Linked DNA regions of Homo sapiens: region 2 is linked to region 1. Evidence: promoter capture Hi-C in human tissues and cell types (Jung and others, 2019). All regions are on one chromosome and are shown on one strand. The core of a region is centred on a gene start or on the middle of the fragment in contact, and the rest is flanking DNA. Distances in the headings are between cores, read along the strand shown. Region 1 holds the start of CCDC7 (coiled-coil domain containing 7). Region 2 has its middle 46 kb from the start of EPC1-AS1.

The links. Contacts are between HindIII fragments. The study calls those that stand out against the background at their distance.
Region 2: a fragment that was not itself captured here is called in contact with the fragment with the promoter of CCDC7 in region 1 in 2 of the 25 tissues and cell types used here (adrenal gland and heart left ventricle).

The regions. Positions count from the first base shown.
Region 1 is chr10:32,442,002-32,449,756 of GRCh38, reverse strand. It overlaps CCDC7 (coiled-coil domain containing 7), which reads right to left and starts at 3,617. Exons shown (of 44, transcript NM_001395015.1): 1 at 3,360-3,617. It overlaps LOC101929431 (a long non-coding RNA gene), which reads left to right and starts at 3,701. Exons shown (of 3, transcript NR_120660.1): 1 at 3,701-4,144; 2 at 7,640-7,755. RefSeq lists a silencer at 3,447-3,676 and an enhancer at 3,747-4,066. The HindIII fragment of the contact is 7,178 bases long and covers 1-5,788 here.
Region 2 is chr10:32,389,002-32,396,756 of GRCh38, reverse strand. It overlaps the pseudogene RNU6-1244P. Among named protein-coding and RNA genes, the nearest start is that of EPC1-AS1, 46 kb to the right of the region's middle. The HindIII fragment of the contact is 6,402 bases long and covers 1-5,805 here.

The DNA of each region.
Region 1 (7,755 bases), core at 2,368-4,867:
TCTACCATATGTTGAATTGGGTCCCAATTTCAACATGCGAATTTGGGGATGACACAAGCATTCAGACCACAGGAAATATTTAGCACTTCGAAAACAAATACACCCACATACTTTCCCTAACTTCCAGGAGGAACACAGGCTGAGAACTGGCTTTTGATCATTTCCTAATAATAGATTACCAGACAAACAGGGGACACCCCCAGGGGTATATGAGCTCACAGGCCAAAACAACTTGACAACGGAAAAAAAAACCATTAAAAAATAAAAAATAGGCCAGGCGCATTGGCTCACGCCTGTAATCCCAGTACTTTGGGAGGCAGAGGCGGGTGGATCCCAAGGTCAGGAGTTCGAGACCAGCCTGGCCAATATGGTAAAACCCTGTCTCTATTAAAAATACAAAAAATTATCCAGGCGTGGTGGTGGGCACCTGTAGTCTCAGCTACTCGGGAGGCTGAGGCAGGAGAATCGCTTGAACTCGGAGGTAGAGGTTGCAGTGAGCAGAGACTGCACCACTGCACTCCAGCCTGGGGGATGGAGTAAGACTCCATCTCAAATAAATAAATAAATATAAAAATAATAAACTAAAAAACATGTTTTAGTTGTAGAATCATTAAAACAGAGAGACTAAAAATACATAAACACACAGAAAGAGAATATCAGCCATATGAAACAGGTATAAGAGGAATTTTTAAGACCCAAGTGAAGATATTAAAAAATGAAAAATATAACAGATAAAACAACACGAGTAATCACAAAATAATACTGCTGAAGAATAAAAACTGATGCAAAGAATAAAATCAGTGGAGGAATAATCCAGCTGAAGAATAAAAAATAATGCAAAGATCAGCAGCATTTATCACATATTCCTGAACATTAATAAAATACACATCAATAGTGATAAGTATTAAAAGCTAGTATCAGGTTTGAAAAAAATATAAATAATTAGCAATTCTACTGAAAATGAGAAAATAAAGGCCTATATATTTGTTAATAACAATAAACATGATTCAATTTTTGGAGAAGCAGTATCTAATGTTCAGAAGATCATCCGATATATATGAAGAGACCAATAATAGGATTTTTTTTATTTGCCAGAAACCATGGCAAAAGTTGATGGTATCCTGTTAGCACATTTATGCAAAACATAAATATCAATACCAAATAGTATAACATACTATTTTAGAGAATAAAATATAAAAACAAATAATAAAACTTACAGATGTTATAAATAAAACCACTTTGAATAAAGTTTTAAAAACTAATAATTTCTCAATTATTTTGGACATATGGACAGCAGATAACAATTGTTGATGTAATTATGGATTTCCAAAATGCAGATATTTCAATATGTGAACATTTATTAGGATTTTAACAAGTAGATGACACCCCGCTGGAAAAGAATCATATATATGTGTAAGAGACTACTCATAAAAAATTAAAATTAAAAATATATAATATATATGGGGCCAGGGATACATGCCCTTAAATATGTCTGACAAGCACAAACAGAAAATTCTCAAAAATAAAAATTCTAAACTAGGTTGTGAACAATAGAACGAAAATATCTTAATAGCACTGAAAATGTTTATTTCATCCAAGAATTATACAACTGCTTTTTTGTTTCGATGAAACACTATAGTTAACACTATAGTTAACTGAATGCATAGTTGCCAAGCATAATTTTTAAATCATAATCAAATATGACTTTGCAAAAATAACTTGTCACTAAAAATCCATTTGAAGGAAGAACACAATGCTCTCTTGGAAATTACTGATGATAATAGTAAATAAACACATTATAGAACTTGAACCAAAGCCCCTGCAAAATATTCCCTTTTACATTTTTCGTTTTTTTGAGACAGAGTTTCGCTCTTGTCGCCCAGGCTGGAGTACAATGGCACAATCTTGCTCACTGCAAACTTTGCCTCCCAGGTTCAAGCGATTCTCCTGCCTCAGCCTCCCAAGTAGCTGGGATTACAGGTGCCCACTGCCACGTCCGGCTAATTTTTGTATTTTTAATAGTGACAGGGTTTCACCACGTTGGCCAAGCTGGTCTCGAACTTCTGACCTCAGGTGATCCTCCCACCTCAGCCTCCCAAAGTGCTGGGATTACACGCCTGAGCCACTGTGCGCCCTGCTCCCTTTTACATTTTTCTCATGCCGATTGTGACACGATGCTTTCAGTAAAAATTAATGATACAAGCAAAATGATGCAGAAACCAAGATTAAATTTACAAAATTGAAAAGCCTCAAAAGAATTCTGAATAAATTACATTGCCAAAGAAACTCCATCAAAACCTTCAGGTCCAAGCAAACATCAAAAATTCCATCAAAACCATCAGGACCAGGAAACAGGACGTAAGAAGAGTGGCCAATGAGCCAATAAGTAAAACCAAAAGGTTATATATACATAGAAAGCAAGGAAAAGAAAATATCACCAAGGACCGAGTGATGAACTACGTCAAATGCTGAGTCAAGTAAAATGAAGACTAAGCTGACACTGGATTTGGCAACATGGAGGTAGGTCATTTGTAACCTGAAGAACGGCAACAATTTCAGTAGAATGATCGAGGTAAATATCTGACTTACCGTTCAAAAGAGAGGAAGTAGGAACAATGAATTGAATATAAGCACTGTAGAGAAATTTTACTATAAAAGGGAGTAAAGAAATACAGTATTACTAGAAGAAAACATGGTCAAGAGGAAAGTTCGATGGAAAAAAGAACAAGTGTATATGCTGTTATGGATTGCATTGTGTCCTCTCTCCCCAAAAAAGTGTGAGGGAGGGAGGGAGGGAGGGAGGGAGGGAGGAAGGGAAGAGGGGAAGGAAGGAAGGGAGGGAGGGAGGGAGGCAGGCAGGCAGGCAGGCAGGCAACGCTCACTTGGTGCAAAAAAAAAGAACCTGACAAATGCTCCGATGAAGTTCACATAAATACAAAAATAGTCACACGCAATGAATACTCGTATTAGCAAGCAAATATTTAAGGACTTTACATATTTAATTCATTTATCCCTCCTAACAATGCTAGGAAGTGGATGTCAGCATTACTTCGCCCAAGTGCATCCGTCCCTTTCCGCCACCACGACAAATGTTTTCTGGTTTCATCCTTCAAGGATTAACTTACATTCATTTCAAATCCTTTAATGATAAAGTGTACAAAATAGAGGAGAGCGGCAGGGGTTGGCAGGGGACGTAGGGAAAGGATGATTTGCCTTCGATCCTACATCCTGCATAAAAAGCAGCACAACCGCCACGGAGGCAGCCAGGCAGCGGGAAAACTAAGTGCAAAGCCAGGACTCTCCCGAAACCCTCAGGTCCTGCTAAGGGAGCCGCTCCCGAGGCTCCCCGCCCTGTGTACCTGCTGAGACTGTGGGAAGTCGGGTGACTGGGCGGTTTGGCCTTGCTGGCTCTAAGGTGAAAAACTATTTGCCTGAGGAAGATGACAATTCCGAGCCTGCCAGACTTCCTTCGAGACGGAAGCCTGAAAACTCCTCAGACTCCAGCACCTCCCTTTTACAAACTGACGTTTGTGCTGAAAGAAAAGGCCCGGCCTCTGCGCCCCCGGGCGGCAGCAAAGACCGCCGGGCACCCGCCGCCGGCGCCGGATGGGGCCGTTGAAGCCACGTCCCAGGCGCCCGACGCCACGACGCCTTGGCGCCGCCGGCGTCGCTGACGCTGCGAGCGTGAGCTGCGCGCCGAGAGCGGAAGAGGAGACGCAGTTTGGCGGCTGTGGGGATTTGCCGGAAGGTTAATAATGTCCATGGGCACATCGGCCTCCTCCTTTCTTATTCTCTCCCAAGTGTAATTCCAGGACGCCCCCTGAGCGCAGATTCATCCAGGCATTTGGCCTAGAGGCCCGCGGAGGAGAAATAAAGTACAGGCCTGGTAGGACCTTTGAGAACCTGGGCTTCAGCTACAAAACCAGAGCCCCAGTCCTTCATCTGCTGTCTCCTCAAGCTCTTTTCAGTGTATTGTGGAGTTCATTACCACTCTAAGCTCGCACGGAAGTGTACACCAGCTTCGTGATCTTAAAAGCAAAACAAAATCAAATGGACTAGGAATTAACTTGAAGCAGAGTTGTGACACTTAAGTGGTTTCTTGCCATCAGTTTCCACGCACTGCTTTAAGATGCAATTTTACAAGGTAGAGTTTTTTAGATAATTTGACCTCAAGAAATATATTAATTTTGTCTTTAAGTTGAACGAAGTAAAATGTTTTTAATATTTTAAAATATTAATTGATACAATTTAACTGTTAATAATGCCTGTGTGTAAATGAAAGGAATAGGAAAGATGGAACTAAAACTAAAAACCAGGAGGTTTAAAGGAGACCTTAGATTTGACTTAGTAGATTTCAACTATTTTCTAAAACTCTGAAAATTCATTATATCTAATTATTTCTAATTTTCCAGTAAAATCTGAATGCCTCACAAGAGATTCCTGAAAATTTATCAGCTCCCAAGAGCTGGTGTAGGCTAGCTCCATCACACCACTAGGAGTTACCATTGGGGTTGCCTGGAAAGGGAAAACAACACATCTTCTGGTGTACCAGAAATGTTCTGTCTTCTGCTCTTTCTGGGTGTGTTCAAAAATTCATGAAGGCAGGCTGGGCGTGGTGGCTCGCACCTGTAATCCCAGCACTTTGGGAGCCTGAGGCAGTGCATCACTCGAGGTCAGGAGTTCGAGACTAGCCTGGCCAACATGGTGAAACCCCATCTCTACTAAAAATACAAAAATTAGCCGGGCGTGATGGCGGGTGCCTGTAATCCCAGCTACTTAGGAGGCTGAGGCAGGAGAATCACTTGAACCCAGGAGGTGGAGGTTGCAGTGAGCCGAGATTGTGCCATTGCGCTCCAGCCTGGGCAACAGAGCGAGACTCCATCTAAAAAAGAAAAAAAAAAAAAAACATGAAGGCATATGCTTATTTATGCACTTTTCAGTATGTGTGTTTTATGTCAGTAACAAAGAAAATGTACATATAAATGATCAGATTTATTAAGCTTTCCACCAACAATTTTTTATTTTTTAAAGTTGGCAATAAAATTAAGAAAGTAGTTTAGAAAGAATTGAATTGCTAAATTCCAAATCTCCCAAAACCGTTGTAAATGAAAGGGATAGGAAAGATAGAACTAAAAGTCAGGAGAGATTAAAGAAGACCTTAGATTTGACAAAGCCAATTTCAGTTATTTTCTAGAACCCTGAAAATAGATTACATCTAGTCATTTCTAATTTTGTTGGTAAAATCTTAACGGTCAAGTTGTCAAGTTAGCATACATTAGCAAAACTCTCAGCATGAGTCTAGCCAAAAGTTCACCATTCATATCTGTGGCCTTAATAGCACAGCTAAGAACCACAGAAAAGTTATCAGTGCTGACAATGTAAAGCAAAGAAGTTTAAAAAGTTAATAAATTTAAGCATGTAATATCAAATTTTGCAGTGGTTTGAGTCTGTGACATGAATCGATTATTCTTTGAAAACAAACAATACTTATGAATAGAGAGGAACTTTTTCATCTGATGAAGGACATCTGTGAACTATCTCCAGCTAACATCATTTTCAATAGTGAAAAATTGATTTTTCCTTAAGATTGGAAGGAGGCAAGGATATTTGCTCTCACTATGTCTATTCAGTATTATACTGGAGGTCTTAACAAGTGCAATAAGGCAAGAAAAAGAAATAAAGGCATAATGATTTCAATGAAAGAAATAAAGCTGTATTCCCAGACAACATACAATTTCCAGACATCTACAATGAAAACTATATAACATTACTGAGAGAAATTAAAGAAGATCCAAATTAATGGAGATTATGTACCATATTAATGGATTAGAAGACCCAATATTGCTAAAATGTCAACTTTTTAAGTCTATGTCTATCAATATTTATCTACACATTAAATGCGTTTATGATCAAAATCCAAGAAGATTATTTTCTAGAAATTGGGAAAATAATTTTGCAATTTATATGGAAATGAAAAAGGCTAGAGCCAAAACAATCTTGAAAAAAATAAGCAAATATTTAAATGACATATACTACAGGTTTTCAAGAGTTATAAAGTTATAGTAAAATAGTATATTACACGAAGTTAGACAAAAATGGAACAAATAGAGGGTTAAGAAATATATCCACATATATAAAGTCAATTGATTTTAAACAGTGCCAGTGCACTTCAATGGGGAAAGAAAAATCTTTCCAACAATGAAAATGAAAGCTGATATCATTGAGAGAAAAAAAATTATCCATGACCCCTGCCTCGTGCCATACCTGAAAGTTAATTTAAATTAAATCATAGACTTTGTGCCATGGACACATACCATACATATTATCCTTCAAGGGATAATGTGAAGGGTTCTGCTTCCAGCCAAGATGGAGTAACAGCAACTGGGTTTATGTGAAGGGTTCTGCTTCCAGCCAAGATGGAGTAACAGCAACTGGGTTTATCCTCCTGTCTGGAATAAGTAAAGAATCAGACAAAATATATGAAACAATGAATTTTTATACCTCGGTTATCAGATAATGATAATGACCCCTGCATAACAGGAAACAAATTTAAGATGATCCCTATTATTTCCTAAGCTTACTCCCTGAAGACAGGTGGTTCCAAGTCATGATACAAAGAACAGAAAACCCAGGCAGCTTCTAGCGGTCTCTGAGTTGAGGGAAGGAGGTGTCCAGGAAGGCCAAGGAAGCTAGAGTTCAAAGGAGAGAATCCGAGAGAAGAAATTAAAGAACAAAGAGAGCTCCATAAATCTTCAGGGGACCCCTTTAGTCTTCAACTGGGTAATGATCACTGTATACATGTATGAAAACTATCCATGGCCAGGGAAAGAACCACGTGGAAGCATGATAGGATATGACACTCAGTGCCATGATAGGATATGATACTCAGTGCTCAGAATATTTCATGTTACCACCAGCTAGAGTCAAAAGTTTTATAATTTAAGGGGCAGTGAGTAAAGTGCTCAAAAGGGTTTTGCCTCAGGAAGGGTTCAAAAACAGTCTTACACTAAACACTCCTCTGGACCTGTCAAACAAAGCTTAAAAGTAAGATCTGAAAGGATTGAATGTTTCCAGTAACTTAGCTGAGACCCAAAACACAGCTCAAGAATATTTATAGGCATACAAAACCTTCCAGCACTCAATAAGATAAAAAGTTACAGTGATAACTACAAAAAATTGCTGAGAGAAAATAAAAAGACCTAAATAAATGAAGATACACTGTGTTCATGAATCAGAAGATTTAATAATGTTAGGATGTCAGTTCTCCCCAAATTGATCTATAAATCCAATGCAATTCCATTGAAACTACCATCAGGCTTTTGTGAAGCAATTTGCAACCTGACGCTAAAGTTCATTTGGAAATAGGAAGGATCTGCAATAGCCAGAATGACTTTTTAAAAGAAAAACAAAATTGGAGGTATACATTACAAGAAGTATAGTCAGGGAGCATTGAGTGCCCTGGAAATAAAGTCTTGTTTGCATTTATTGGGTATCCCCTTTCCCCCTACCTCCACCAAAATGGCACTCATATTACTCATGAGGCACAGGTTGACCATGCCTCCAACATGGCCTCCCAATCAACAATACACCTTAGGATTCCCAGTTCAGTTTGAATAATTGAGCATCCTTGTTTTTGTAGGTACCACATGATGGAAGTCAGTCCAATCTTTCCTATCCTGTTTCATCCACCACCACAAAATACCTAAGTGACAGCTATGGGACTATCTACAGGCAATACATACAAGCTGTTGACAA
Region 2 (7,755 bases), core at 1,355-3,854, 52 kb after region 1:
AATGTTAACCTCACAAAAGTTTTTGAACTCCCATTTGGCACTTTAGGAAGTTATTTAATCCTAAGGTAAAAAATATTTAACTGTTCCCTAGATCCACACTTAATGGATGTATGCAACTACTGAATATATTTACAGCAGCATTTTTCTGTAATAAAGAGTTCAAGGTTGATGAAGAGTTCATTTTTCTGTGATAAAGAGTTCAAGAATAGGCATAACAGACTATTCTTGCCACATTATTATTGTCACAACTATTCACACCCCAAATCTTGCTCAACTTATTTAAAGACCCTTTCTATCTTTTTTCTGTTACTACTCGGTCATCTTTACAGGCTTTTTTTCTCATTATTTGTAAACATTCCTTATTCTCAGCCCAGTTAATAGAATTACTATAATATCTAACCATAAATTTTTATTTTTGCTCCATATATTTCTTCCAAAATAAATTGCAACTTGCCTCATCCCTAAGTCAAGCTATACTCTTCACTCTTGGCAGCTGAAAAACTGAAAGAATGTCTCTGATCATCATTCTCAGTGGATCAGGGCTCTCATCACATAATCCCTATATTTGGGCAATAGATGATTTATCTGAATTTTCTTGAATAATAAAATTATTGTTACAATGGTTCCATCATTTGTATACTTTTCCTAAGAGACTGCTGTGCCCTTCTTTGCTCATTCAGTAACCAATAATACCCATAAGTATTGCTACCACCTAAGTAACCCATGCAGTATTTTTTATTTTATTTATTTATTTATTTATTTATTGAGACATGATCTTGCTCTGTCACCCAGGCTGGCATGCAGTGGCAAGATCTTGGCCCACTGCAACCTCTGACTCCTGGATTCAAACGATTCTCCTGCCTCAGCCTCCAGAGTAGCTGGGATTACAGGTGCCTGCCACCACGCCTGGTTAATTTTTGTATTTTTTCAGTAGAGACAGGGTTTCACCATGTTGGCCAGGCTGTTCTCAAACTCCTGACCTTAAGTGACCCACCTGCCTCAGCCTCCCAAAGTGCTGGGATTACAGGTGTGAGCCACCGTGCCTAGACCTATAAAAAAGTAAAGGAATCTTTCAGGATGGCACGTATGTTTCCAAAGTCAATGAGTTAATCTGGAATGACCATCAGAAGTAGAATTTAGCTTAGGAATCGCGTCTAGCTTAGGAATCGGGTCTTAAAATTCTTACCACTAGGAACATTTATCATTCTTTTTTCTTCCATTCTTAATCTCCCTACTATTGTGATCATTTTTCCCCCTCGCTTATAAGTTTCTAAGCCCCTTATTTTAAGATCTTACCATGTTTTTTGTTTTTCTTCACCCATCTTAAGACTAAAAATCTGCAAGTAGGGCTCACCAAACTTTCTAGTCATATCCAAGAGGAGAAATTTTGTCAAACTTGATACATTCTGCTCTCAGCTCTGTATCATACCACTCATTTTCTTTATTGGTAGTTTCTAACCTCTATTACCTCCTTCATGCCACAATCTAATGCCCTATACTTTCCAGTTACTTCCTGCAATTGGCATGGAAATCTCTCTTTTCCTCGCAGATAATGGACCGTAATGAACATAGTAAACAGTTTAAAACCATTTTAAGGGCGGGGCATAGTGACTCATGCCTGTAATCCCAGCACATTGGGAGGCCAAGGTTGGTGGGTCACTTGAGATCGGGAGTTCGAGACCAGCTTGGCCAATATGGTGAAACCCCGTCTCTAGTAAAAATAGAAAAATCATCCAGGCATGGTGGTGGCACCTGTAGGCCCAAGCTACTCAGGAGGCTGAGGCACAAGAATCCCTGGAACCAGGGAGGCAGAGGTTGCAGTGAGCTGAGATCATGGACTGCACTCCAGCCTGGGAGACAGAAAAAAAAAAAATTAAAAATAAAACCATTTTAAAATGGGGGAAATTATGGCACAGAAAATTATATTGCTTTCATACTATTCTACAGTTTATGCAATAGTTTATGTAATTGTTAGAAGTAAACTACAGGCTTCCTAATTTCCAATACCTGTTTTTGGAAAATAATTTAATAGTTATTGTTTTGCCACTATATTTCATTTTAAGATTATCTTCCATTAATAGTGATACTGTCGTGCTCACTTTGGCAACAGAAATACTAAAATTGGAATGCTACAGAGAAGATTAGCATGGCCCCTGCACAAGGATGACACACAAATAGTGATATTGTCCTCCCATTAATGGTAGTAATATAAAGTAACCCTTGAAAGTAATATATTTAAGCTAGGATGTCACTAATTTAAAGAAGATTTAAGTAAATACAAGTAAGAGTGATAGGATATGGCAAAAATTGCGATGATCAAATGATTAAGTCTGGGAAGCATCACTAATTGGGAAACACTGTAAAGTCTGGTGTAAAATGATGGCAGAGGAATGGAGACTCAAGAATCCATTATTCTAGTCGCTGGGTGGTACTTAATGGTACATCCTTTGCCACCTTATGACATAGGAGATCATAAGGGCAAGAGCCAAAGCCTGATTTCCTGCTCTGCTTTAATCCAGCCTATAACTGGGGTCACTGCCTTCTCTGCTGGCTAGCAATTGGAGAAGGACTCCTTTCACAGGCCTGGAACGGCCAGGGAATGTGTGGACAGAAGCAAATCTGAGTAACAGTGTTCACATCCTGTAAAAACCATAACACTGGCTCAAAAAAAGAAACAGACAAGCTTGCCAGGATCGAGGAGAATAGTAATTTTTGCTCTTGGCAAAGCCGTAAGAGGAAAGGCCCACTTGATGGGCTGGGAACGAGGGATGGAGTCTTTTACAAAGATCTGGCCTTAAAGCCTTAACAACAGGGCTGAATTTAGAGAATAAAGCTCATGCTTTTAAGAATTTTTTTTTTTTTGAAACAGGGTCTCGCTCTGTTGCCCAGGCTCAAGTGCTGGGCAGTTGAGATTACTCCATCTTGGCTTACTCCAACCTCGACTTCCCAAGTTGAAGCAATCCTCCTGCCTCAGCCTCCCAAGTAGCTGGTACTATAGGCGCATGACCACACCTGGCTAACTTTTGTAATTTTAATAGAGATGGGGAATCCCTATGCTGTCAAGGCTGGTCTTGAACTCCTAAGCTCAACGGCCTCAGCCTCCCAAAGTACTGGGATAACAGATGTAAGCTACCATGCCCGACAGATACTTTTAAGAATAAATTAGAGGGCCAAAAATTAAGATAACATTTATTAACCCTAGGAAAAAATCTTATAACTTTTATAAGCTTTAATTTCTTCATCTGAATATGAGGAAGATAGTAATAACCAACCTACCTCAGTCCAGCTAATGTGTGTATTGCATGATACAATGCATATAAAATACCAAGTCATGCTAAATGCTCGGTAAATGTGACTTCCCTATAAAGCCAAAAGACTTCAGGTCAATATCTGGACCTTACTAGTTAAGTAACTATGGGTCAGTCTACTTATTTATGGCTCACAATTTTCCAAAATGTACATGAAGCAGATTATTAAAATTCCAAACAATAAAATAGTATGCAGAAAATTTCAGAATCAGGGAAAATATAAATTAGAATAGAAAATTAAGACCAGGAGAGAAAATATAATGTAGATATTCAGACCAATAAGTCCTACAACAGTACTAATGTGTGTTATAGTACAAAATTAGTTGTGGGGTTCCTGTCAACCCAAAAGAAATTTGAAAATGTTCAGTTACAAAATATTCATTCATTCTCCATGAGGAGAAAAAAAAAACACCAAATGCTGGTGGTAAACCTGTGTTGTTTCAGGGCATGTCACTTCAATTATCCAAGCTTTTAAACAAGAAAAGTATTATCTACCTTTCAGGGTAGATGTAGAGAATTACATGAATGACATATATGAAAAAGTATTTCATAAAATTGTTGTACTATGTAAGTGTTACTGATTATTTCATATACCTTAATTTACCCAATAGAGCAGGCTTACCATATGTGTGGACCTTCATTTAAATTACTGGGCTAAAAAAAGAACGTTTATACACTGTTGAAGGGAATGTAAACTAGTACAGCCATTATGGAGAACAGTTTGGAGGTTTCTCAAAAAACTAAAAATAGAGGTACCATACAATCCAGCAATCCCATTGCTGGGTATATACCCAAAAGAAAGGAAATCAATCTATCAAAGAGTTACCTGCACTCCTATGTTTGTTGCAGCACTGTTCACAATAGCCAAGATTTGGAAGCAACCTAAGTGTCCAGCAACAGATGAATGGATAAAGAAAATGTGGTACATATACACAATGGAGTACTATTCAGCCATAAAAAAGCATGAGATCCTGTCATTTACAATAACATGGATGGAATTTGAGGTCATTATGTTAAGTGAAATAAGCCAGGAACAGAAATACAAACATTGTATATTTTCATTTATTTGTGGCATCTAAAAATCAAAACAATGGAACTCATGGAGATGGAGAATACAAGGATAGTTACCAGAGGCTGGGAAGGATAGTGGAGGTTGGGGATAGATGGGGATGGTTAATGGGTACAAAAAATATATATATAAATGGATAAGACCTAGTATTTGATAGCACAATAGGGTGACTATAATCAATAATAATTTAATTATACATTTTAAAATAACTAGAATAGTATAATTGGATTGTTGTAGTACAAAGGATAAATGCTTGAGGGGATGGATATCTCATTTTCCATGATGTGATAATTATGCATTGCATGCCTGTATCAAAATAGCTCATGTGCCCCATAAATATACACACCTACTGTGTATCCACAAATATTAAAAAGTAAAAAACCAGATAAGTAAATAAAATAAATTACTGAGCTAAATCGTTTTTACTATAGGAATACTCAGCATTCCCAGGCACTGTTCTAATAATTTACATATATTCAATTACTACCCTCAATAATAGTAGGTACTATAAATATTTTCATTGCAATGAAGAAATCTGGGTACAAGGAGGTTAAGTAGCATTCCCAAGTTTACTCAGCTAGTAGGTGGTGGTGCTAAGTTTGATATCCAGGAAATCTGGCCCCTGAGACCATCCTGGTGTACAAATACAATGAGGTATAAATGACATATGCTTATAGCCCTCTGTAACTATAAAAGCTGCCAACCTATAAATTAAATATAAGCCTAGCAAGAAAACTAATAAGTGAAAGGTATTAATTTTATGTGACATGCCATATTGTTTTCTCATCACCAGTTGTAGCATGAATTTGATAGCATTATGGTCAGGTTATTAACAGGTCCTGTGAGATGACAATTTCCCATCACTTTTTTTCATTCAAATTACTGGAAACCATTTGTTTATACAGCTTGTTGTGATATGCAGCCTTCCCTTGGTATAAATGTATCATTTACATATTAAGTCAGCTTTCGTTCTTTTCTCAGTAGCTCTCTGATTAAAATAGAATGGCTCACTTCTAACTCAATTACAAACACAAACACAAGAGTAAAATTGCAGGATAACACTTGGCTACAGAGAGGCTATCTAGATGATCCAGGGTCTGCTCATATTGTTTTTTAAGTTACGTTGAAATGAAAATGTAAAATTCTCACAGAGAAGGCCAGGTTCAGTAGCTCATGCCTATAATCCCAGCACTTTGAAAGGCCGAGGCAGGAGGATTTCTGGAAGCCAGGAGTTTAAGACCAGTCTAGGCAACATAGGGAAACCCTGTCTCTACAAAAACATAATAAAATTAGGTTGATGTGCTGGCACATAGTAGTCCCAGCTACTCGGAAGCCTGAAGTGGGAGGATCGCTTGAGCCCAGAAGTTTGAAACTGCAGTGAGCTATAATTCTGCCACTGTACTCCAGCCTGGGCAATAGAGCAAGACCCGGTCAAAAAAAAAAAAAAACTACTCACAGAGAGTTCATAAACATCAGTGTCTCTAGTTTGAGAACTCCCATCACAGAGTACTCTCAAGAAGGCAGACAACCCAACTGCATCTCTGTAATTTGATGGGCAACCCTATTCCAGACTCTGCCAAAGAGGAACCACTGGAGCATCCCCTCTTTCCAGTAAGAGCAAAAAGTCTGTAGGCACCATCTGTATTCTCCTGAGATTCCATCCCTTCCTACCATGTACCTAGGGCTCTTCCAGGCATCCTGAAGCAGGGAGCTCAGCTGGTCTGCGTCCTATTTTGATACTGACTACTGGGGAGAGGAATGGTAAGGAGAGATTTGGCTACAATAAATCTGTTCTGATGATACCGGGTGCCACATGCTGGCTTGGGAAGCCTCAGAAGGGTAGAAGCCTTTTTTGTAAGGGTTCTTTTGCCAACAGCAAATTCCCAGCATCATGTTCAGCTCAGAGTCCCAAACCGTAAAGAGTTGCAGCTCTGACCAAACAGCTCAGCTCCTACATGGACTTCCCAGCGTGAAAGCTGGCCCAGAAGCACTGCTTCAGGATTGGTTCAAACAAGAAAATAATTCTGCCTGTCTCCTTGTAAATACCCCCTCAAATTATGGTTTGCAAATTGAGGTTTGATGCATTGGTTTTCCAAATATGTACAACAGACACAGCAAAATTGAGTTGACAGTGCACACAGTTTAAGACATCTGTTAGTGAAAGTTACATTTTAAGACTTCTGTGATGACACCGAATATATTGCAACAGAGAGGCCAAGACAGAGTCCAGTGTGTCAACTTCTAGCTTAAAATTCCCTCAAAATAAAGCACCCTTAACATAGATCTTTACAAGCAGTGCTGAGAGTGAAGCCTAGACCCTAAAATAGAGTGAGGCTAACTCACTCTCAGGATGTTGGAAACTGATCATGGTCTCATGGACATCTTATACCAACTCCTGGATAAGTAATCTCTTTAAGAAACTCCCAGTGAAGATAAATAGTGTTCAACTAGAATTTCCTTTTGCTAGTGAGAAACAATGAGGCCAATGATGGCAAGTCAAAAATCAAGGGTGGTCACGTCAAGAGGTGATCGTGTACATGGTAAAGGTAGCAAACGGATGGCTGCCACTGGGGCAATAGGTTTGTTTTTTGTTATTTTTTTTTTAAGTGTATCTAAAGTGACCACATTTCCTGATTTTCCCTGTATTTAAAGCAATCATATGTATGTCAAGTGAGCGTGTTTTCCGGATTTTCTAACCTGTTATCTCAGTACAATTATTATTAATTTATTTTCTTGAGACAGAGTCTCGTTCTTGTTGCCCAGGCTGGAGTGCAGTGGTGTGATCTCAGCTCACTGTAACCTCTGCCTCCCAGGTTCAAGCGATTCTCCTGCCTCAGCCTCCCGAGTAGCTGGGACTGTAGGCACACACCACCATGCCTGGCTAATTTTTGTATTTTTAGTAGAGACGAGGTTTCACCATGTTGGCCGGGCTAGCCTCAATCTCCTTACCTTAAGTGATCTGCCTGCCTCGGCCTCCCAGGGTGCTGGGATTACAGGTGTGAGCCATCGTGCCCAGCCAGTACAATGATTAATCGTGCCATTTTCACTCTTGAAAATGTCATAGATTTTACTATAAGTTGTATGATCACACTATCTATAGCACAATCCCATATTATTTTATGCTCCACCTCTCCTCTTTCAATACCTCTTCTCCCTCATTCCCTGGGATTCCCACATCTTTGTTTTTGCCCATTGGCTATCTTTCTCTGTTTTCCAAGTGTTTCATGCTCCAGCATTACCCCCAATTCAATATTCACCCCCCATAACACTATTCATTCAACTCAGATTATCTTGGTGTATTCGTTCACTTTCACACTGCTGATAGACATACCCACAACTGGGTAATTTATAAAGAAAAAGAGGTTTAATGGATTCACA